Regions from separate parts of the Homo sapiens genome. Here region 1 is linked to region 2. The links are contacts of gene promoters, found by promoter capture Hi-C in blood cells and fetal thymus (Javierre and others, 2016). All regions are on one chromosome and are shown on one strand. Each heading gives the region's core, a stretch centred on a gene start or on the middle of the fragment in contact. The rest is flanking DNA. Distances are from core to core; before and after follow the strand shown.

What was found. The method cuts DNA at HindIII sites, captures the fragments that hold promoters and counts their contacts. A CHiCAGO score of 5 or more calls a contact.
Region 1: the fragment with the promoter of COG6 here is called in contact with the fragment with the promoter of SUPT20H in region 2 in 4 of 17 cell types (naive CD8 T cells, total B cells, naive CD4 T cells and 1 more); the score reaches 13.4 in naive CD8 T cells.

Annotation. Positions count from the first base shown.
Region 1 is chr13:39,651,524-39,658,095 of GRCh38, reverse strand. It overlaps COG6 (component of oligomeric golgi complex 6), which reads right to left and starts at 2,434. Exons shown (of 19, transcript NM_020751.3): 1 at 2,217-2,434. The coding sequence starts at 2,369. RefSeq lists a silencer at 2,121-2,170. The HindIII fragment of the contact is 8,496 bases long and covers 1-6,572 here.
Region 2 is chr13:37,055,698-37,062,805 of GRCh38, reverse strand. SUPT20H (SPT20 homolog, SAGA complex component) reads left to right here and starts at 3,118. Exons shown (of 26, transcript NM_001014286.3): 1 at 3,118-3,247. RefSeq lists a silencer at 2,947-3,206. The HindIII fragment of the contact is 8,647 bases long and covers 1-5,305 here.

The DNA.
Region 1 (6,572 bases), core at 1,185-3,684, 2.6 Mb before region 2:
TTTGCAGGAGATGTAAAAAAAAAAAAAAAAAAGTGACAAGAATCCAAAATTATTCATATGCTTCTTGCTTGACTGGGTAAATGGTGACGTTCTTTAGTGAGAGCGGAACCAGTTTAGGGAAAAATCAAGAGTTCCGCCCATGTTAAGTTCTATGACGTCAATCAGTATCCAATTGGAGGTATAGTATAGACAACTAATTCTACAAATCTGGAGCTCAGTAGATGTCAGAAACAGAGTTATAAATTTGAGAGTAATCATGCTTTTTGCTACTTAAAACCATGAAAGTACAAGATTTTTCTTACAGAGAAAACATGAATGGAAGAGAGAGCAGAGAACCAAGCCCAGGACATCCCCATTGTACACTAAATTCTGCAGATATACATTTCTACACCTCCACTACTGTATATTCTAGTAGGCTTACCCTTTCATGTTTCTATTTGTTATTTTGAAATATTGGCTGGATTGACAAAAACAGTAAAACTATTTATATAAATTCAATTTAATATTTCAGAGGAAGCAAAAATATGTTTACAACTATAAATACTTACTGTACAGAAAAAAAAAACCCATGAAGTGAAGCAGTTTCTTTAGACTATAGCCTTGAAATGTCCTAAGGTCTGGTTCAAAGAAGTAATCAGTAATGTTGAACGAATGAAATCACAGACTCAGATGCAAATTACAGTTCCACCAGTTACTAGTTATATGACAACCTAGCTGCACTCTCTCCATGCTTTATTTTCCTCATGGTAAAAAGAAGGTTATGTGGCCGGGCGCAGTGGTTCACGCCTTGTAATCCCAGCACTTTGGGAGGCTGAGGCGGGCAGATCACCTGAGGTCAGGAGTTCAAGACCAGCCTGACCAACATGGAGAAACCCCGTCTCTAATAAAAATACAAAATTAGCCAGGCGTGGTGGCACATGCCTGTAATCCCAGCTACTTGGGAGGCTGAGGCAGGAGAATCGCTTGAACCCGGGAGGCAGAGGTTGCAGTGAGCCGAGACTGCGCCCATTGCACTCCAGCTTGGGCAAAAAGAGCAAAACTCTGTCCAAAAAAGAAGGCCATGTTATCTATATCAGAGCAAGTAGCAGTCTTAAATGATATAATAAATATCAATATGAGACACATTAAACACTTCATAAATTTTATGATAAAATTAATATTTGTTAAGAAAGAGTAAGTGCCAGGCTCTTTGCAAAGGACTTTACCTGGAGTCTCTCACTGAGTCCTCAAATAACAACCATGAGAAACTTAACAGCAGGATTCCTAATTCCTAAACAGAAGCTGAGATTAGTGAAGGGACTTACTCAAATCATGATGCACACATTTAGTGGTTCTATCTAATAAGTGGTAGTCTCCAGAGCCCTAATTTCTTATTCATTACATTGCAATGTTATTTTTTTACATATCGGAATCAAATTGTTATCGACAGCTTATTTTCAGTTACCTACATATTCACCTATAAAACTCTCTAACTTTGACATATGTTCTTCTTTATGTTACACTGTCATGACCAATTTACCTAGCGACCCACAGAGACAGAAGAGATGGCTGGGTATGTGAGGAGCTGTAAAGTCCAACTTAAGTTTCAGGAGGTACTTGTGAGAGCATGCTGTCAGTTTATCTTCTAAAGAAATACAGCCTGAGCCCACAAATCATAGCGCTTGGCTCAACAAAAACTAGTAGATATGAGTTCATTTCAGCCACGGGCAAAGGTAGTTCTTTCGCGCTGCAAATTATTGCAATTGTTGTCACTTGTCCGTGGAAATGCACCCTTATCCCTACCACTGCTCTCTTGGTCTCCCGACCCCCATTTGCGCTACCTTATCTTGGAATCTGCTCTTTTGCATCTGTTTCATATCCAGTCTTGTGCTCTCCTCCACTCTCCCAGCTCACACAGCCAAACGCCTCCAGGGGTGTTTGGAGGACACTTCTCGAGGCACCACCGTTCACCAATCCCATCCAGAGAGCCTTGAAGGCACCTTTTCAGGTGGAGAGAACACCCAGGAAACCCCTTCGCTTTTCCGGAGGTTGCTGGGGCTCCCCCTTCTCACCGCCCCCGGCGCCCGCAGAGCAGCGGAGCCCGCAGGTCTGGGGTCACTCGCGGTCCCTCTGCTGCCGGGACGAGGGAGACCGCGGTGGGTCCCTGACAGACGCCGCCCCTGGCCCGGCTCAGCCCCGCAGGAACCTGTGACTCCGGCCCCGCCAGCCCCGGTTACCTTGTCGTTGTCCAGCCGCGTCTCCAGGATCTTATGCAGCTTGCGCGACAGCGGGTTGCAGGTCGTCGCCGAGGTCCCGCCTGCCCCATTGTTGAGGCCGTTGGCAGCCCCGGTCGCAGACACTGCGACCACTTCCCCGCTGCCCTCTGCCATAGCGCTGCGCGTCCCGCCCCCTGCTGCCACCTCAGCCAGGCAGGGACCACGGAGGCAGCGCGAGTATTGCGCATGTGCAAATCGGCCGCGCATGCGCATCGGCCCCGGAAGTCTTCGCCGGGTAACCCTGCTTGGGCTCTCAGAAGCGTGAGGGGCGGAGAAGATGTGGGGGGCGGGACAAGACCCTCAGGTAGAAGGAGAAAATTTATAGGATTAGAGAGGACTTTGGAATTATGGATCTGCGACCTTCAGAGCTAATTAGATGACAACCAAATGTAGTATGTAAAATACACCATGACTTGTGCCTGGCATATACATTCAATATAAGTTAACTGAAAGTTTAAATTACATTTGCCTTATCTGAATTCATTTTTTTGAAAATTATTTATTGAAGGCATAGTATGTGCCAGGTACTCTGGTAGGCATTGGAGAATCTACATTGTGTGTCTGAAACAGACAAAGCTGTTAATAGATGTTATTAGGTTGTGATGAGTGCTCAGGGGATGAAGTAGTACAGTGAAAGAAAATGGAGGGAAAGGCCCACTTCACTCAGGGAGGTTTGGAGAGGAGTTGACACTTAAACTGAGATTTGAAGGAGAATCAGAATGTGAGGAGAAATCATTCCCAGGCAGAAGAAAGTGTGTAAGTGTACAGGCCTCAAAACAAGATGAACTTGGCCCTGACACAAATGGACCAGAGCCCATGTAGCTGTAAAGTAATGGATAAAAATGTAACAAGTTGAAAAAACTTCCCGGGAAACTCTGGAAAACAAACATCATTGCTTTTTTTCTTTCTTTTCTCAGTTTTTAAAATTTGGATCAAAATAAAATCGCTGGGCTTCTGTGAATTATTTGTCAGAAACACTATTTGGCTCTTGTCATAAATTTTCCTTGTTTCATATATGTCTATGTACATAGTTATATTGTATATCAGACTTAAGGGAAAATTACCTATTACAGAGGTCACATAAAGAAAGCACTGACAAAACCACTCATCTCTACTCTAATGAAGAAGAGAAGGCCCAACTATCCAAAAGAAAAAAATATACAAAAAGCAGCAATATCTAGGTATGAATTCAACAAAAAATACAGAGAACCTAGATGAAGAAAACTTTAAAATGCTACTGGGAGAACATAAAACTTAAATCAATGAAAAAATATATTGTTCTCTTCAACAGGAAGACTCAATATTGTAAGATGTCTTTTCTCTTTCACAGATAAATTTAAGTTCAGTGTAACCAAAATTAAAATATCAAAGGTTTACCTAAGGTGTATATATCCAAATGAATTTGCATATATACAAAGCAATAATATAATGTAGAGCTTGCAAATATGTACAATTAAAAGGAATGACGATGATAACATGCCAAGTCAGGAGCGGTCATGAAATACCACATATTGTATGACCTCTTTATGTGAAATCTCCCAAATAGGTAAATCAATAGAGATAGAAAGTAGATGAGTGGTTCTGGGAAGAGGAGTGTTGGGAAGAGGGAATGGGGAGTGTCAGTTCATGGTACAGGTTAATTTTTGGGGAGATGAAAATACTCTAAAGCTAAATTGTGGTGATGGTTGCACAACTCTGTAAATATACTAAAAAACACTGAACTGTACACTTTAAATGAATGAATTGAATGGCATGCAAGTTTCATCTCAAATCTGTTTTTTAGGCCAGGTATGGTGGCTCACACCTGTATTCCCAGCACTTTGGGAGGCTTAGGCAGGGGGATCTCGAGTTCAGGAGTTAAAGACCAGCCTGGGCAACATAGCGAGACCCTGTCTCTACAAAAAAAAAAAAAAAAATACGAAAACTAGTCGAGTGTGGTGGCATGCCTGTGGTCCCAGCTACTTGGAAGGTTGAGGTGGGAGTATCACTTGAGCTCAAGCCTGCGGTAAGTCATAATCATGCCACTGCCCTCTACTCTAGCCTGGGTGATGGAGCAAGGCCCTATCTTAAAATTGAAAAAAAAAAAATAAAGCTGTTTATTTTAAAAAGTAAATTGGAGATAAATAGACAAAATGTTTAAGTAATAAAAAATACAAATTTATATTAATTTTTAAAATCTTTATTTAGATATAATTTACAGGCCATAAACTTCACCTATTAAAAGTATAAAATATGACAGCTTTTAGTTCATTTACAGAGTTGGCAAATATCACCATCATCTAATTTTAAGACATTTTCATTACTTTAAGAAGAAAACTGTACCCACTAGCACTCCCCATTTTCCCCTCTCTACCACCCTAGGAAACCACAAATCTGCTCTCTGTCTCTATAGATATGCCAGTTTGGACATTTCATATAAACAGAATTATACAATATGTAACATTTCATGCCTGACTTCTTTCACTTAGCATAATTTTTCAAGGTTCATCTATTTTGTAGCTTGTATCAGTGTTTCATTCCCTATTATTGCCAAATAATAATCCATTGTATGGATCTCCCATATTTTATTCATTCGTCAGATGGCTATTTAGGTAGTTTCAAATTTTTGGCTTTTATGAAAAATGTCTCTGTGAATTTTCATGTGAGAGTTTTTGTGTGGATGTATGTTTTCACTTTCCTTAGGAAGATACCTAGGAGTAGATTGTTCTTATGGTTAACTCTATGTTTAATGTTTTGAGAAACTGTCAAATAGTTTTCCGAAGTGACTGCCCCATTTTTCATTCCCACCAGCACTGTATGAGGGGCTCCAGTATTCTTCACATCCTGACTAACACTCATTATGGTCTGTCTTTTTTATCTTATCCATCCTACTCAGTGTGATATGATACCTCATTGAGATTTGGCTTTCCATTTCCTAGTGACTAGTGATATTGAGTTGTAAGAATTCTTTATATATTCTGGATACTAGTCCTAACAATTTATTGGAAAATATTTTTTCCTACTTTTGCTTGTCTTTTCACTTTCTCAATGGCATCCTTTGAAGCACAATTAATCTTAATTTGATGAGATACAACTTATCAATTTCCTTTTTTATTATTTGTGCTTTTGGTGCCTTATTCAAGAAATTATTACCCAACCTAGATCACAAAAATTTATTCCTGTGTTTTCTTCTATTACATTGGCACAAAAGTAATTGCAGGTTTTGCCATTGAAAGTAATGGCAAAAATCGCAATTACTTTTGCACAGGCCTAATAAAATTTTATAGTTTCAGCACTTATATTAAAGCCTATCTTGTACCTTGAGCTAATTTTTGTGTATGGATGTTAGGTAGGGATCCAGTTTTATTGTCTTAAATGTGGATATTCAGTTGTCTCCCACACCATTTGCTAAAAGGACTATTCTTTCTCCCATGTGAGCTTTTCTATAGATTGAGAAAAAGCCGATGATAAAATCCAATATCCATTCATGATTAAAGAAACAAGTAAACTCTTAGCAATTTGAATAAAAGGGGATTTCCTTAATTGGATTGAGAGTATATACAAAAAAAAACCCTATGACAAACATCACACCTAAGGAAATATTTAAAACTTTCTCCTTGACATCAAGAATAAGACAAAAACTATCCACTAACACTGCTATTCAATATTTCACTAGAAGCTCAAACCAGAATAATAAACTAAGAAAAAAGTCATAAAGATTAGAGAGAATTTTTAAAATTTACACTTTTTGATAGGTGATGCAATGTGTCCCTAGATAATCCAGAAGGATCTATAGAAAAAGTGTTAGAATTAAAATAATAACCTATTTCACATATTGTTTTCCAAAACTCCAAAAAGGACAGGATCTTGGAATTCAACTAGCTTGCAAAAGAAGTTGTGTGACTCTTTAGCACCTCATTGCAAAAATGTGTTTTTATGTTGGTCAGGACTTACTTCATCAATTACCGCTGCCTGTAAAGGTGATTAAAAATCCAAAATTAAAAAAGATATGGAGCCGGGTGTGGTGGCTCATGCCTGTAATCCCAGCTACTCAGGAGGCTGAGGCAGGAGAATCGCTTGAACCTGGGAGGCAGAGGTTGCAGTGAGCCAAGATTGCACCACTGCACTCCAGCCTGGATGGTAGAGCAAGACCCCTTCTTTAAAAAAAAAAAAAAAAAAAAAAAGAAGAAGAAAAGAAAAAGATACAGAGGCTGGGCACAGTGGTTTATACCTGTAATCCCAGCACTTTGGGAGATAGAGGCAGGAGGATCACTTGAGCCCAGGAATACGAGACTAGCCTGGGCAACATCAAGAGACCCCACTTCTATAGAAAATTTT
Region 2 (7,108 bases), core at 1,869-4,368:
GCCTGTCATGTTGCAGAAAATGAGAAAGTACATTCTAAAGAAAACACCAAAGGTATGGTTAGACTATCATTTGATAAATAAATGATGAGATTATATGAGCAGAAACACTGCCTGTTTCAACTGAAGGGGATGCAGACAAGACAAAAATGACAGAAGGCTTTTACATGTCCTAGATTCTACAGGACAGGACAATAGAGCTATCCAGCTGCTAACTTTGTACTATTCCTTTTTTTTTTTTTTTTTGAGACAGATTCTCACTCCATTGCCCAGGCTAGAGTGCAATGGCGGGATCTCAGCTCACTGCAACTTTCACCTCCCAGGTTCAAGTGATTCTCCTTCCTCAGCCTCCCAAGTAGCTGAGATTATAGGCATGCACCACCAGGCCAGGCTAATTTTTGTATATTTAGTAGAGATGGGGTTTCACTATGTTGTCCAGGCTGGTCTCAAACTCCTGACCTCGTGATCTGCCCACCTTGGCCTCCCAAAGTGTTGGGAGTACAGGCGTGAGCCACCGCACCTGGCCAAACTTGTGCTATTCTTTAAGAAAAGGGGAGAATGACCTCAAAGCAATTCAGATGTTATCAAGGCCATTACCTAGCAAAACTTTTGGGATGAGACTCTGCCTGGAAGAGCATGCCTGGCAGAGTGTGGGGAGAGGTATAGCATCCACCTAGGGTCCAGAAGGCAGGGCCACCACCCTTGTAGGTCTGGAAGGCAGGGCACTGAATCAAAATGGATTATTCTTGAGCCTTAAAATCTACTAGAATTTGCCTTGCTAGATTTTTGGACTTGCTTGGGACCTGTCATCCCTTCCTTTTTGCCTATTTCTTTTATTTCCTTCCTTTCTTGCTCCTATTTTTGTTTGTTTGTTTGTTTGGAATGCCTATTCTATGCCTGTTCTGCCATTGTATTTTGGAAGCAAACAACTTCCCTGGTTTTACAGTTTCATAGCTGGGGAGAAAATTTGCATCAGGATGAATCATATCTCAAGTCTCACCCTTATCTGTTTTAGGTGATATTTAGAAGAGACTTCGGACTTCAGATTTTAGAGTTGATGCTTTTGAGACTGTTGAAGTGGTATGAATGTATTTTGTATTCAATAAGGACATGAATTGCAGGGGTACAGAAGTCTGTTGACCAAATTATATCTCCACAAAATTCATATATGTAACCCCAAACCCCAATGTCACTGTATTGGAGATAAGATCTATAAGGAGGTAATTAAGGTTTAAGAAGATCATAAAGGTGGGGCCCTTATCCAATAGAATTAGTTACTCATAAGAAGAGACATGAAAGCTAGTGTGCTTGCACAATGGATTCTTGGTGATGACACCAAAAGCACAAGTAACAAAATAGATAAATTAGATTTCATCAAAATTAAAAAGGTTTGTACACTGAAGGATATTACAAAGAAAGTGAAAAGACAACCTACAGAATGGGAGAAAGTATCCACCAATGATATATCTCATAAGGGTCTAATATCCAGAATATATGACTACACATAACTAACAACAAAAACACAAACAACTCAATTTAAAAATGGGGAAATACCTGAATAGAGAGTTCTCCAAAGAAGATATACAAATGGCTAACAAGGGCATGAAAAGATGCTCAAGATAACTAGCCATTAGGGAATGCAAATCAAACCCACAATAAAATACCACTTTATACCCTTTGGGATGGTTACTATCAAAGGAATAGAAAATTATGGTGTTAGTGAGGATGTGGAGAAATTGGAATCCCCCGACAATGCTCTTGGTATGTAAAATGAATGGTTCAGCTGCTGTAGAAACATTTGTTTATGGGTTCCTCAAATATTTTCACGTAGAATTACTATAAGACCCAGAAGTTCCACTATGTTTATACCCAAAAGAATTGAAAACAGGGACTCGAACAAATACTTGTATACAAATGTTCATATCATTGCTATTCACAATAGCCCGAAAGTGGAAACAACCCAAATGTCCATCAGTGGATGGACAGGTAAAACTGTGGCATCTAGGTACAGTGGAATAGTAGCCATAAAGAGACATGAAGTACCGATACATGCAACAAGGTGTACAAGGTGAACCTGCAAAAGATTATGCTACGAAGACAGACCAAAAGGTCACACATTCCATTTATATGAAATATCCGTAATAGGTACCACAGTTTGAAAGCTGATTGGCATTTGCCAGGGGCTGAGAGAGGGAGGAATGGGAGTAACCACTTAATGTGTTCGGATTTTATTTTGGAGTGTACTTTAATACACTTATAATGTGTGCAACCACTAACTCTAATTCCAAGACACTTTCATTCATTATGACCCTTGGCATTGTGAACGGCAAATAATAAATGCTCATTAAAAAGATTCACCCCAGGCCGTGCATGATGGCTCACGCCTGTAATCCCAGCACTTTGGGAGGCCAAGGCGGGTGGATCACTTGAGATGAGGAGTTCAAGAGCAGCCTGCCCAACATAGTGAAACAGTCTCTACTAAAAATACAAAAATTAGCCGGGTGTGGTGGTGCACGCCTATAATCCCAGCTACTCCGGAGACTGAGGCAGGGAGAATCGCTTGAACCCAGGAGGCAAAGGTTGCAGTTAGCTGAGATTTCTCCACTCCACTCCAGCCTGGGCGACAGAGCGAGACTCTGTCTGAAAAACAAACGAACAAACAAAACAAAACAGACCTTACAATGTGTGCTAGTAATGCGGTTTCTGAATTTTTAGAACCCTTCTCTGGGGTGGTTTTTTTAAAAACATAAACTCATTGGCAGTTGATATACTACAGAAGGTTGTACGCATTGGACTAGTAAATGTAGGTAACGGTGTCGCTGTTTTTCCATTTGTATGTGCTAAGCAAAGAGAAAAGCTAGTTCTATGTTTCTTCCACTCTAGAAATTCAACAGGGTCGTTTTTCCCCAAATTCACATCTACACCCTCCCTCCCACTTTGCGGACTCGGACTCCAGGATTGAGCAGAGATCCTGGGCCCCGCCTCCCGCCCGGACGCAAGTCTCTGCGGGCCTCACCGGCGTCCTGCGCGGAACGCAGCGCTCCAGGCTCCTGGCAGCGGCCCCGCCCTCCCGGCTCCTCCCCTTCCGCCCGCCTTCCCCGCCCCTCGGCCCAGCCTGCCAATCGGAAGTGCGGCCGCCGGAACTGGCTGTTGGTGGGGGTGCAGCACTGAGCCGCCGACGGGGCGGGTGGGCTTTGCTGCCGAGCAGGCGGCGCCGTCTTGGGGCCTAGCGGCGAGGCGACCCGCACAGGTGGGCGGTGGCGGTAGGTGGGTGGCCAGCGACTGGCAACGCGGTGGCTTAGACGCGCGAGATCCGGCCAGGGTCAGAGGTGAGCGGGCCGCATCCCAGAGCCCGCTGGAGGAAGACGGGGTCCCCAGAGACCCGGCAGGCCGGGGCGGAGGTTGAGGCAGCTAAACTCCAGGTGGACGCCTACATCGCCTTTCGCGGTGTTGCTAAGCCGAACTTTTAATTTTAGTTTGACTTTTGGGTTCCAGAGACGGGTATTTCCGGACACTGGCAAGAATTTTGCCTTGCGTGTCTTCGAAGGCGGTTTTCTTGGTGTCCATATTGCATAAAGGCTTGTCGCTCCTCTGTGGAGATGACGGTTGTACAGGTAAAGCCTAAGTTGTGACAAAAGCTCCTGCAATGGGAAGACTCTGGTCGATCAGGGAAATCAGTAGAATTGATAGCAACGCGTAGAATTGATAGCAACGCTTAGAATTGGATTAATTACTGGCCATGGTTACCCGGCGCTCAGAAATGAACTTGGAGAACAGTTGCCCTGGAAGCCATCTCCCGTAGCCACTGCGTAGTGGGGGCCGCGTCTTCTTGAGTGCAATTCATCAAAGTCTCTAGTAGGACTCAAAATATAAAGTGACGAGCAGGATTTTCGGAGTCGAGTACAGTGTACTTGGGTTGATCACCATGTTATAAAGTTAGATCCAAATTAAGAAATACATATTCGTCTCTGAGCAGAATTGGGTCCTTTTTTTAATTGCTTTGCTTTTTTTAAAGAAATGTAAAAACAGATGCCGGTTTGATTAGTTTGCAGGTTGTAATATTGGAAGGGACCTAAGATTGGACACAGAGTTCTGAATTCTGATCTAGGTCTGTGATGTTAGGAAAGTCAGTTGTTCTGATTGCCTTATTCTGTAAAACGGAAATGATAATGATTACAGTTTCCTCACAGGTTCTAGTAAATTCTGTGTATAGACAGAATGTTTGCTTTGTGAGAGATATGAAGTTATTAGTTTTTGTCTGAAGTACTTAAATAATTTAAAGTTAGTAAGCCCCCATCCCCAATTTAGTGACAAGAAATCTTAAAGTCATCACATTTTGTCCGAAAAGTACATAGTGTATCTTCATCTTCAAATTCAGTGGTCAGAAAATTTTCACGTTCACCTAAATTCAACTTAAACCTCCTACGAGCTTTTCAAGGGTAGGAGTAATATCTTACTCATTGTAAATGATCGTAAATCATTTACAGTTGTATGGTGCTTGTGTTTGTGTTGTATTAGGAGGTTAGTCCATTTTTTAAAGTTTCAGACGGAGTTTCACTCTTGTTGTCCAGGCTGGAGTGCAATGGGGCGATCCTGGCTCACTGCAACCTCTGCCTCCCAGTTCAAGCCATTCTCCTGCCTCAGCCTCCGGAGTAGCTGGGATTACAGGTGTGTGCCAACACACCCGGCTAATTTTTAATTTTTTTAGTAGAGACTGGGTTTCACCATTGTTGGTCAGGCTGGTCTCGAATTCCTGACCTCAAGTGACCCACCCGCTTCTGCCTCTTACAGGCCTGAGCCACCGCCCCAGCCAACTTTTTTTTTTTTTTTTTTTTGAGACGGAGTCTCTCTATGTCGTCCAGGCTGCAGTGCAGTGGCGCGATCTTCGCTCACTGCAGCCTCCACCTCCCAGGTTCAAGTGATTCTCTTGCCTCAGCCTCCTGAGTAGCTGGGATTTCAGGTGTACGCCACCACACCCGGCTGATTTTTGTGTTTTTAGTAGAGACGGGGTTTCGCCATGTTGTCCAGGCTGGTCTCGAACTCCAGGGCTGAAGCAATCCACCTGCCTTGGCCTCCCAAAGTGCTGGGATTATAGGTGTGAGCCACTGCACCCGGCCTTCTGTATTTTTTTGTAGAGACACTTTCCCCATGTTGCTCAGGCAGGTCTGGAACTACTGCTCCTGGGCTCAGGCCATCTGGCAGCCTCTGCCTCCCAAAGTGCTGGGATTACTGGCGTGAGCCACACCCCACCTGGCCCTTTCCTTTTTTTTTTTTTTTTTTTTTTAATGGCTTGGCAAAAAACAAAGCTTTGGGGTTCACCAAAAATCAAAGCAAAACTGTTTTACCTGGAAAATCTTGTTTTCTGTCATCAGAAGTTGTGCTTTAGTTCAGCTGTGTAGACACCCAGTAGTGGTTACATGAAGTTAGGTGAATAGATTAAAAATAATTTTTATTTGTCATCAGTCTCAGAGCAAATGTTTTCTATTTATTTTTATTTCTAACTTTTTTTTTTTTGAGACAGGGTCTTGCTCTTTTACCCAGGCTGGAGTACAGTGGTGTGATCATGGCTCACTGCAGCCTCTATTTCCCAAGCTTAAGTGATCCTCCTGCCTCAGCCTACCGAGTAGCTGGGACCTGTGCCACCATGCTGGACTAATTTTTTTTTCTTCCCTTAGTAGTGACAAGTCTCACTATGTTGCCCAGGCTGGTCTCAAACTCCTCAGCTCAGATGATCCTCTCACCTGGGCCTCCCAAAGTCCTGGGGTTACAGGTGTGAACCACCATGCCCAGTCTTATCTCAGAGCAAATGTTACGCACCATCCTTTGCTAGGCAGAGTGAGCTTCAACCCTGGCAGCACGTTTGACTCGTCTGGGGAGCTCCAAAAATGGGGACTGTGCCTCACTCTAGACCACTTAATCAGTCTCAAGCAGGTGGGTCACAGGCATCCCACAGTTTGAAGCTCTGCAAGTTACTCTTGTGCAGCCAGGATAAGAACTCCTGTAGTTATAGAAAAGAAGATTTTCTTTTTTTTTTTTTCTTTTTATTATACTTTAAGTTTTAGGGTACATGTGCACAACGTGCAGGTTTGTTACATATGTATACATGTGCCATGTTGGTGTGCTGCACCCATTAACTTGTCATTTAACATTAGGTATATCTCCTCATGCTATCCCTCCCCCCTCCTCCCACCCCAAAACAGGCCCTGGTGTGTGAAGTTCCCCTTCCTGTGTCCATGAGTTCTCATTGCTCAATTCTCACCTATGAGTGAGAACATGCAGTGTTTGGTTTTTTGTCCTTGCGATAGTTTGCTGAGAATGATGGTTTCCAGCTTCATCCATGTCACTGCAAAGGACATGAACTCATCATTTTTTATGGCTGCATAGTATTCCATGGTGTATATGTGCCACATTTTCTTAATCCAGTCTATCATTGTTGGACATTTGGGTTGGTTCCAAGTCTTTGCTACTGTAAATAGTGCTGCAATAAACATACGTGTGCATGTGTCTTTATAGCAACATGTTTTATAATCCTTTGGGTATATACCCAGTAATGGGATGGCTGGGTCAAATGGTATTTCTACTTCTAGATCCTTGAGGAATCGCCACACTGACTTCCACAATGGTTGAGCTAGTTTACAGTCCCACCAACAATGTAAAAGTGTTCCTATTTCTCCACATCCTCTCCAGCACCTGTTGTTTCCTGACTTTTTAATGATCGCTATTCTAACTGGTGTGAGATGGTATCTCATTGTGGTTTTGATTTGCATTTCTCTGATGGCCAGTGATGAGCATTTTTTCATGTGTCTTTTGGCTGTATAAATGTCTTCTTTTCAGAAGTGTCTGTTCATATCCTTCGCCCACTGATTGATGGGGTTGTTTGTTTTTTCCTTGGAAGTTTGTTTGAGTTCATTGTAGATTCTGGATATTAGCCCTTTGTCAGATGAGTAGATTGCAAACATTTTCTCCCATTCTGTAGGTTGCCTGTTCACTCTGATGGTAGTTTCTTTTGCTGTGCAGAAGCTCTTTAGTTTAATTAGATCCCATTTGTCAATTTTGGCTTTTGTTGCTATTGCTTTTGGTGTTTTAGACATGAAGTCCTTGCCCTCGCCTA